Linked DNA regions of Homo sapiens: regions 1 and 2 are each linked to region 3. Evidence: promoter capture Hi-C in human tissues and cell types (Jung and others, 2019). All regions are on one chromosome and are shown on one strand. Each heading gives the region's core, a stretch centred on a gene start or on the middle of the fragment in contact. The rest is flanking DNA. Distances are from core to core; before and after follow the strand shown.

Evidence for each region. The method cuts DNA at HindIII sites, captures the fragments that hold promoters and counts their contacts. A contact is called where the count stands out against the background at its distance.
Region 1: a fragment that was not itself captured here is called in contact with the fragment with the promoter of NTRK2 in region 3 in 1 of the 25 tissues and cell types used here (dorsolateral prefrontal cortex).
Region 2: a contact is called between a fragment that was not itself captured here and the fragment with the promoter of NTRK2 in region 3, in 1 of the 25 tissues and cell types used here (dorsolateral prefrontal cortex).

Annotation. Positions count from the first base shown.
Region 1 is chr9:84,999,860-85,003,212 of GRCh38, forward strand. The region is part of intron 17 of NTRK2 (neurotrophic receptor tyrosine kinase 2); the gene reads left to right. Among named protein-coding and RNA genes, the nearest start is that of NTRK2, 330 kb to the left of the region's middle. The HindIII fragment of the contact is 3,088 bases long and covers 328-3,353 here.
Region 2 is chr9:84,929,295-84,932,577 of GRCh38, forward strand. The region is part of intron 14 of NTRK2 (neurotrophic receptor tyrosine kinase 2); the gene reads left to right. Among named protein-coding and RNA genes, the nearest start is that of NTRK2, 260 kb to the left of the region's middle. The HindIII fragment of the contact is 3,950 bases long and covers 1-3,283 here.
Region 3 is chr9:84,667,972-84,671,135 of GRCh38, forward strand. NTRK2 (neurotrophic receptor tyrosine kinase 2) reads left to right here and starts at 1,758. Exons shown (of 19, transcript NM_006180.6): 1 at 1,758-1,917; 2 at 2,406-2,989. The coding sequence starts at 2,778. RefSeq lists a silencer at 283-502. The HindIII fragment of the contact is 14,152 bases long and covers 1-3,164 here.

The DNA.
Region 1 (3,353 bases), core at 622-3,121, 330 kb after region 3:
TCCTCCAAGCCACACTTTCATGTCCTCTGCTCAGGTTCGCAGTTTCTACAGAACAGCCTCCCCAGCCCAGCAAATGATGGCGAAAGCACAGCGAGGAGAGGACAGGGCTGGCTACCTCCCTTCCTGAATTTTTAAATGGCACGAATGGAAGCTGTCTTGCATTCTAAGAGAGGAACCCGAGACACAGCCTCGGGTCACATCCCACGTCCTCATTGCAGCACATCTTAAAAACAGTTTCAGAGCAATTTTAGGTTTATAGCAAAGTGGAACAGAAAGTGGAGTTCACATATACCCCCTGCCCCTCACATGTACAGCCTCCCCCACTGTTAACATCCTGCACCAGAGCGGTGCATTTGTTACAGTCAGTGAACCTGCACTGACACATCATTATCACCCAGAGTCCATAGCTTACATTAAGGTTCACTCTTGATGTGCTTTCTATGGGTTTTGACAAACGTATAATGACATGTATCCAGCATTGTAGTATTACACAGAATAGTTTCACTGCCCTAAAAATCCTCCGTGTGTCTCCTATTCATCCTTCCCTATCCCCTAGCCACTGGAAACCACTGATCTTTTTTTACTGTCTCCGTCGTTCTGGCTTTTCCAGAATGTCATGCAATTGGAATCATACTTGATTCCAACTATATGACATTATGTAGCCTTTTCAGGTTGGCTTCTTTTTACTTAATAATAGGCATTTAAAGTACCTCCATGTCTTTTCATGGCTTAATAACTCATATCTTTTTAGTTCTAAATAATATTATATTGTATAGATGTACTGCAGTTTATCCATTCGCCTACTGAAGGACATCTTAGCTGCTTCCGAATTTTGGCAATTATGAATAAAGCGGGTGTAGACATTCATGTGCAGGTTTCTGTGGACATAAGTTTTCAATTCCTTTTGGGTAAATACCATGGAGCATGACTACTGGGTCATATGGTAAGAGAATGTTTAGCTTTGTAAGACACTGCCAAATTGTCTTCCAAAATGGCTGTATCATTTTGCATTCCAACCAGTAATAAATGAGAGTTCCTGTTGCTCCACATCCTCATCAACATTTGATGTTGTCAGTGTTCTGGATTTTAGCCATTCTAATAGGCGTGATAGGTGTGTAGTGGTACACATTACAGCATTTTGGGGGCCAGTATGGTCACCACTTAATCGCATCTCAGGTAGATTCCAAGACTTTCAGTTCACTTTTAGTTATGAAACAATTGAGTCTAGTTTAAAACTTTATTCTTACATCAGATTCAAAGCTTCCCCATCTGGTGTCACAGCCTGGAATTCTCCCCTCTCCCTCTTCTGGTGCTAGTTCTTCCTGTTTGGTTAGGGCCTGGAGGAGGGACTGAGGATGGAGAATATACATCTGGTTACTTCTCAGTTGTCATTCTCTTTTCTGTTGTCACTATTTCTCCATGGGTCACCCTTGGGCAGCCAGAGTACAGACAAAAAGGCTAAAAGTAGACATTTTCCACAGTGCCCACTTATTCTTGAAAGACTCACATGTCTTTGCCTTTTCAGATGATGGGCAAGCGATCTCTGCCACTGGTCCTCTCAGCTCCACCATCTTTGTCCGTCCCTTTGTGCTTCCTTTGCAGTACACACAAGCCTGTTGTCTAAACAGAAGCTCAAATGCACAATGAGGTCCCAGCACCCCTTCTTACAGCATCCCCAATCTTTATGAGGAATTCTCTTGAAGCCCTTATTTGGTTTCAGGTTGGGGATGGGGTAGCAGAGAGAGGGAGAAAGGATGAGAGTTAATTACCTGTCTTCTGGAACATTCTATCAAAAGACCAATGGCTCCATATCTCTTGCTCACTCCTGCTCCCAGTTCTTTCCCCACACAGACTGAGAGAGGAGAAGGATCTAAGGTAGTGGGCCATTATAGGGCCCGTGCCATAATTGGGGCAGAAGTTGGATCCAGCTGTGAGATGCTGCGCTGGCCCCTGACTGACACAGAGCCTTCTCTAGAACAGGTAGTAAACACAACTCCTTTTTCCTCACCTGAAGGCCAGAATTTCTGAATAGGGCAGGGAGGGGACAATTGAAAACGCCCCCCTAGTATCCTATTATGGAGCATCAGAGGTATGCGGGGAAGGGGACTTCACAGCTGTCCTCATCTGAATATTCAAACAGTTAATGACCTAATGGCCATTCATGACAGAAAATCTGATTGCAGCAAACAGGAAATCTCCCTGCTAATACTCACCCCTGCCTGTTCTTGACCTTACCTTGGTTACTGGTAGTCAGGCACTATTCCCCTTGCAGTACTGCCTCATTACTTGGAAGGTGGTTTTTAGCCACACCTTTGCCTGCTTCCCTCCAGTTAAGCACAAGCTTACCCCCTACTGCCCTGGGTGATAGAAATGCAAAGCAAGCCTGTTGACAATTTCTGAAGACCCCAAGAGGATGACTATCAGAATGAGGCCAGTTCTAACTGACTGAGTTTTCATTAGTGAAGATCATGAAATGCCTGGCCCATGAAGGCTCGAGGTTTGCATCTGGTGTGAGCTCACATGCGTGGATGCAGAAGCTTCCCAGGTGCTGTGGGTGTCTCTTGGCGGCATTTTACTTTATAATGCTCAGTTTGGGTTCCTCTTCTGCTGAACCTAATTTTTTCACTCCAGGGGTAACCACTTTTTCCACTTTCAAATAATGGTGCAACTTCAGTGATTTAATTTAGAGAGGTGATGAAGTGACCGTTCAAGTGTTCAGCAAATGGATAAAAGCCTTTCACAAATTCCTCAAAAATAAACACTCTCATCTTCTGAAAGGTTTACTAAATACACACTGTAAAGAACTAGCCATCAGCATATATACTTCTTGTTATTCGATGGTTGCAGTATTATGTTTTATTCAAGTTTGGTTACATGGATATGGAAAGGTAAAGTCTGACCCCTGAAGCAAAGAGGATGGTCATTCTGCAAGTAGGGCAGGGACAGCAGGAACAGAGAAGAATCTCACCATGTCTTGACCATGAAGGTCTCAAGATGTCTAGGAATGCATTTCTGGGGGTGGATAGGGTTGTCTACAAATGGTGCCCCCAACATCAGGCCAGGTCAGGCCAGGCTAGGAGGTGAGGGGCTCCAGTAGGTGGCCTGCTGAGTTGGAGAAACAGTTGGGGGACGGAGCTGAGTGAGCTTGGTGAATCAGCCCCGAGAGAGCCTACTAGAAGGCTGGACTCTGTGCAACACAATATTTCTCTTTATTGTGTCCTTAGTGTTTATTGTCCTATGGTTTTCCTTTAGAGTTTAGCAAAGCCATTCAGCTCACCTTGAGCTGTGCTAAGGTGAAACATGAAAAGCTTCATTTGTGAGATCATTAAAAAGGGATGCAGTGCATTCCTGGA
Region 2 (3,283 bases), core at 247-2,746, 260 kb after region 3:
TTCACTTCTGGCACTCATGGGACAAATGACCAAGGGCACCACATTTCCATTCTGAAAAATTCCATCAGTGACAGGGTTGCCCAGACAGGGTGCAGATCACACGAGTTTGGTGGTGTATTTCCTATAGCTCTTATTTGATTCCTCCTTTTCCTTTGGCAGGGTGAATTTTACACAGAAATTTTTCTATAAAACTCTTTTTTTTAAATTAAGTGATTGTTTTGAGTTTTCCTTCAAATCTAGGAAGTCATTCATGGTAGAGTTTGGTTCCTTTTTTTTTTTTTAAATTTGAGAGAGTCTCATTCTGTTGCCCAGGCTGGAGTGCAGTGGCACGATCCCTGCTCACTGCAACCTCTGCCTCCCGGATTCAAACAATTCTCCTGCCTCAGTCTCCCGGGTAGCTGGGATTACAGGTGCATGCCACCATGTCCGTTTAATTTTTGTAGTTTTAATAGAGACAGGGTTTCACCACGTTGGCCAGGCTGGTCTCAAACTCCTGACCTCAAGTGATCAGCCCACCTCGGCCTCCCAAAGTGCTGGGATTACAGGTGTGAGCCACCACACCCAGCCTCTTATTTATTTCTTATTACAGTTGCTTATGTTGGGTTTAAGGTGATTTGCTCAAGTCTCCAAAGTTAAGAGCAGCAGATTGGCTGATCACAGAGAAAGGAAGCATGTGAGAATTTTGCATGCTTATGTGATAGCTTATTTATCATGGAATCCTTAGGCATGCTTCACTCAGGATATTTTGTGTAAAGTGAATCAAAAATGTCCACAGAGCCCTTCAAGATACTGATATTCAAAGTCTTAGACCACAATGAGATAGGAGTTTGTCCAGAATGTGAATCAGGGCATTGCTTCCTTCATTACAAAAGTCTTACTCTCAGGAAAAGTTAGCCTAATGTCACACAATCAGCCAAACTAAACCTTTGGATGTCTGGCCTCTTAGCTCCACTGCTGAAAGCTGGAGGAGAAATGGCAGCCCAGTGTTGTTACAGCTTAGGCAGGTTACTGAGCCTTTCTGAGCTCGGCCCCTGAGAAGGAAGGCACTGGTAGGGTGGAGAGGGAAAATGTGGGCCCAGAGCTCAGTGGGTGAGAGGAGCAACCGAGATGTCAGCAGAGGTGGTGCAGGGTAATGGCTCCCTAAGATAGAAGCTTCAAGACAGCTGGGGCTCTAGCACGAGGGAGAGGGAGTAAAGGATCAGAAATCAGGTGTGTAAGCCCTGAAGTACCAGGGGATGAGGGATAGAGATGGCGTCCAATTGAGAGGCTTGGGCATCCTTGGTGCATTGCCGAGGTTTTATTTAAATCAGGGAGGTAAAGGGATGTTTAAGGAGAGTTGAGGAAATAAGGAGCTTGTGGAGTCACAGGCAGTGAGCTCAGAGTACACCGTGGAGGGGTGTCCAGGGGAGCTGAAGGGGCATAAGCGATCCACATTGGGAGGATAGTGTCTGGATAACTAGAGACTTCCTGTGGTGTTGTAGGGAAATGGAAAATGGGCAAGTTGGGATGAGTTTTGATGCCTTCTTAAAGGAGAATGGGAAGACGTTCTTAGCTCAATGACAGGAAAGCTTCAGATTAGATGTTCTTCCCACTGCTGCCATCCCAGAGAATAGAGCTATTTTATCACCTACAGGCTTAGAAGAGTTGACCTCAATTAACTCAAATAACATAGTCAAGTAGTACTTGTCTGTGGTTATCATTATTAAACATATTTTTTCACAGATATTTATAAATCACCAATTGTATGCACAGCACTGTGAGGCCCTGTCAGGAATACAAATACAAAATTCCTGTGCCCCTAAGTAGCTCAGTCTTAAAAAAGAGAAATTTGGCCAGGCACGGTGGCTCACACCTGTAATCCCAGCACTTTGGGAGGCCAAGGTGGGTGGATCACGAGGTCAGGAGTTTAAGATCAGCCTGGCCAATATGGTGAAACCCCATCTCTACTAAAAATACAAAAACATTAGCCAGGTGTGGTGGCACACACCTGTAGTCTCAGCTACTCAGGAGGCTGAGGCAGAAGAATTGCTTGAACCTGGGAGGCGGAGGTTGCAGTGAGCCGAGATTGTTCCACTGCACTCCAGCCTGGGCGACAGAGCGAGACTCTGTCTCAAAAAAAAAAAGAGAGAGAGAGAGAGAGAGAGAAATTTATTCCATTTAGAGAGAATACATTGGCAAAAGGACACTGCTCAGATTATCGGTGCCCCAAAACATAACAAAGCAGATAAATGCAAATATAGTAGCCCATTTCCTAAAGAAAAGATGCAGCTCTCCTGCTTTCAAGGTCAACGTGGAAAAACTGCTTTAATCAATTTTAGTTTTGGAAATAATGAAATTGTGGCTTTGGCCTTAAAAACTTATTTTCCACCAAATTTTTCTCCTGCTTGGACTGCGAAAAGAAAGAAGGTATGTAATAAAATGCAAAAAAAAAAAAAACAAAAAAAACCAACGTTAAATACTTGCCTTGCTCTGGTTAGAGTGAGAAGTAAATCAAGTGGGAATTTAATTCCCAATGAACATGTGACAACCAGGGAGTTAAATATTAGATTTAAATAGGGCAGCTAATTATCTGCAAGAATTACATTTGTGTCTTTATATGGGCACTCTCCCTAATGAACACATTTCTCTCCTCTTAAATTCAGTCGTTGTCACTGGAGCATGAGAAATTAATATACGTTCTTATATTCATCAATATTGTTGCTCATAAAAAGACCTTTTGATTTTTATCACCCTGAGTTCCCAGAGGCTCACAAAAGCATTCATAGCTCTGAACCACATGAATTATCGGGGGGAAAGAAAAATCCCATTAAATCAAAATCTTAATTACCACTTGCATTTTCTATAAAGTTGTGTCCAAAAAGAAACCAAGCAGGCTGTCCATCAACATAGAATGGATAAATACATGGTGGTACAGTCCTTCCACAGAATATTATACAGTGGTATAAGGGAAATAATTCATACTACACACACAATACAGCCCAATCTCAAGGACACCGTTGAGAGAGAGATTCAAGATCTGCAAGAATTCGTACTGTATAACTCCATTTAATGTAGGTTCAGAAACAGGTGAAGCTGAACAAGCTCTGGGAGATAAGTAGGAATGTAGGTACAATCAGGAAAGAACACACTGGTGCTTCAAAGTTACTGGTGATATTCTATTTCTTAAATGGGATGGTGGGTTCATAGGTATCCATTTTATTATTATTATTTACTGCAGTTTAAATTAAACTGCAGATATATGGTTTATATTTTCGTATAATGCAGTTCACAATCAATTAAAAAA
Region 3 (3,164 bases), core at 508-3,007:
AGTGGTGAGATAGACCTGCTGGCCTTGCTTTCGGGACCTGCAGCAAGATTTTTGGGTGCTGTCCAAGAATTCCCGCGGTTACACTCAGCGCCCAGGATCTGTACAAAAAAGCCCCAATAGATGTTTTACGTTCCCTTCGTAATATTTAACGCTTGGCCTAGATCCGAGCATTCACTCTAACGTTCGGTTTCTTGATCCTTCCCATCCCCAAACTCTGCGGGTAGATCAGTGACTATTACTATATTTTGAACGAGACTCCAACCCATTGCTCTCTCGAGAGAGAAGGATTGCCCGCCTTTTTCCCCCGGGCAGGAGCTCGGCGAGGCCAGGAGAGCCGCGCACCGGCCGGGCAGGGACGCGCAGGCGTCGGGCGCCGCTGGTTGCGCATCTGGCGCCAGAGCGCGCCCCCAGCGCTGTGCCCGCCGCGACCCGGGCCATGGGCTGGTGCTCCGGAGCGTGCCGGGCGCTCTCTCCCCGCGCGGGGGCACCAGAGCCCTCGGAAGTGTCAGGCACTGCGGTGTATTTTCCCCGTTCTCTTTTAAATGACTGCGGAAAAACAGATTCCGAGCCGCAAAAGGGAAGACGGATTCTCAGACAAGGCTTGCAAATGCCCCGCAGCCATCATTTAACTGCACCCGCAGAATAGTTACGGTTTGTCACCCGACCCTCCCGGATCGCCTAATTTGTCCCTAGTGAGACCCCGAGGCTCTGCCCGCGCCTGGCTTCTTCGTAGCTGGATGCATATCGTGCTCCGGGCAGCGCGGGCGCAGGGCACGCGTTCGCGCACACCCTAGCACACATGAACACGCGCAAGGTACGGCAGGGGAGCAAGGGCTTGGGATGCCCTACGTGGGGGTGGGCATCGCGGGGAGTGAATCCACGATCTGGGAATGGCTACATCCCGTCAGGTTAAAGGATGAGAGAAAATGACGCGGCGCCACACATCGGACAGGCCAGGGTGGCCACCGAGCATTTAGAATACGCATCAGGCGCGCTCCCTTCCCCTCACATGTCTCTATTTCCCGGGCGTGTGATGGCAGAAAACGGCAGGAAAAAGACCCACTTAGAGAGCTAGAATTGTGTTTGGAGACTCCCTTCCCTCTGCAAAAGCACCAACAGGAAGCCCCTCCAAAACCACCGATCCCCAAATAGGTGGCCCGGAATGGGGGCGGTGATCCTTGGTTACCAATGCAGAACACGTTTTGGTGTTTACAACATTTATTTATTTTTAGGATAGCTTGCCCTCCCTTTTAGGCAGGGTGGGAAAGGAGAACGCGGGGAGGGAGAAGGGAGGGAGGATTCCTATAATAAGAATCAGCGCATTTTTCAGAGCTGAACCAAGCACGGTTTCCATTTCAAAAAGGGAGACAGCCTCTACCGCGATTGTAGAAGAGACTGTGGTGTGAATTAGGGACCGGGAGGCGTCGAACGGAGGAACGGTTCATCTTAGAGGTACCTGGATGTAAATGCACACACACACACAGACACACACACGCACGCGCGTGCATGTCTACACGGCCAGGATGTGTGCGTGTGTGCGCGCGTGTGTGAACTCCCACATGCTGCTGCTGTCTGCTTCTGGCCAGTGGCACCGATGCCTCCCTCCTCCCTGCTCGCCCCCAGATTCCCCTCCCCTCCCTGGTGCTTTTGTCTGGAGGGTGTTATGGGTTTGTGTGTGTATGAGCGTGTGTGTGTTTTTGGATTTCAGACTAATTTTCTGGAGTTTCTGCCCCTGCTCTGCGTCAGCCCTCACGTCACTTCGCCAGCAGTAGCAGAGGCGGCGGCGGCGGCTCCCGGAATTGGGTTGGAGCAGGAGCCTCGCTGGCTGCTTCGCTCGCGCTCTACGCGCTCAGTCCCCGGCGGTAGCAGGAGCCTGGACCCAGGCGCCGCCGGCGGGCGTGAGGCGCCGGAGCCCGGGTGAGCAGCGCAGATAGTGCCCTCGGTCGCCTCGGCCCTCACTGTCTCCCCCTGGGGCGGCCTCGGCTACTCCCCAGGTGGGACGTGCCGCGCCACCTGCCCGCGCCACCGGCACCCAGCGGCCGTGGCGGATTCTGCAGCATCATTCGGGGGCCCCGTCGCGGAGCCAAAGCCGCCGGCAGTCTCCGCATTCCCCTTTAAAGGGTCCTTCGCCCGGCCTGTACCATGGAATCCTGTCTTGGGGACCCTTTCCCTACCTCCCCTCCCTTGGCCTCAGGCTCGAAGAGAGAGTGGGCACACTGGTGGCTCCAGCGGCGTCAGTGCCATCGCGGGGCAAGTTGATTCCTGGGCCGGAGCTGGGCACTCATCCATCCACAGTCTCCGGGCTGGGGTCGGGGTGGGGATGACGCGAGCAGAGAGGGAGAGTGCCCCAATTAGTGGTGTTGGGGGTCCTACGCTCAGTCTTACGCGTGTCTGTTTGTCCTCAGCCTCGAGGTGCATACCGGACCCCCATTCGCATCTAACAAGGAATCTGCGCCCCAGAGAGTCCCGGGAGCGCCGCCGGTCGGTGCCCGGCGCGCCGGGCCATGCAGCGACGGCCGCCGCGGAGCTCCGAGCAGCGGTAGCGCCCCCCTGTAAAGCGGTTCGCTATGCCGGGGCCACTGTGAACCCTGCCGCCTGCCGGAACACTCTTCGCTCCGGACCAGCTCAGCCTCTGATAAGCTGGACTCGGCACGCCCGCAACAAGCACCGAGGAGTTAAGAGAGCCGCAAGCGCAGGGAAGGCCTCCCCGCACGGGTGGGGGAAAGCGGCCGGTGCAGCGCGGGGACAGGCACTCGGGCTGGCACTGGCTGCTAGGGATGTCGTCCTGGATAAGGTGGCATGGACCCGCCATGGCGCGGCTCTGGGGCTTCTGCTGGCTGGTTGTGGGCTTCTGGAGGGCCGCTTTCGCCTGTCCCACGTCCTGCAAATGCAGTGCCTCTCGGATCTGGTGCAGCGACCCTTCTCCTGGCATCGTGGCATTTCCGAGATTGGAGCCTAACAGTGTAGATCCTGAGAACATCACCGAAATGTGAGTTCCTGGAGCTTTTCCTCCTTTTTCTCCTTGCCCCTAGGGCCCGAGCTGGCCAGGTGGGTAGGTCCTGGAAGTGAATGCTGTCCCAAGAGTGGGGAGAAGTCAAAGACAAGGGATGCAGGACAGGGTCATCTGTCAGTTACCTGCTGTTTCACTGGCTTGGGACTGCTAG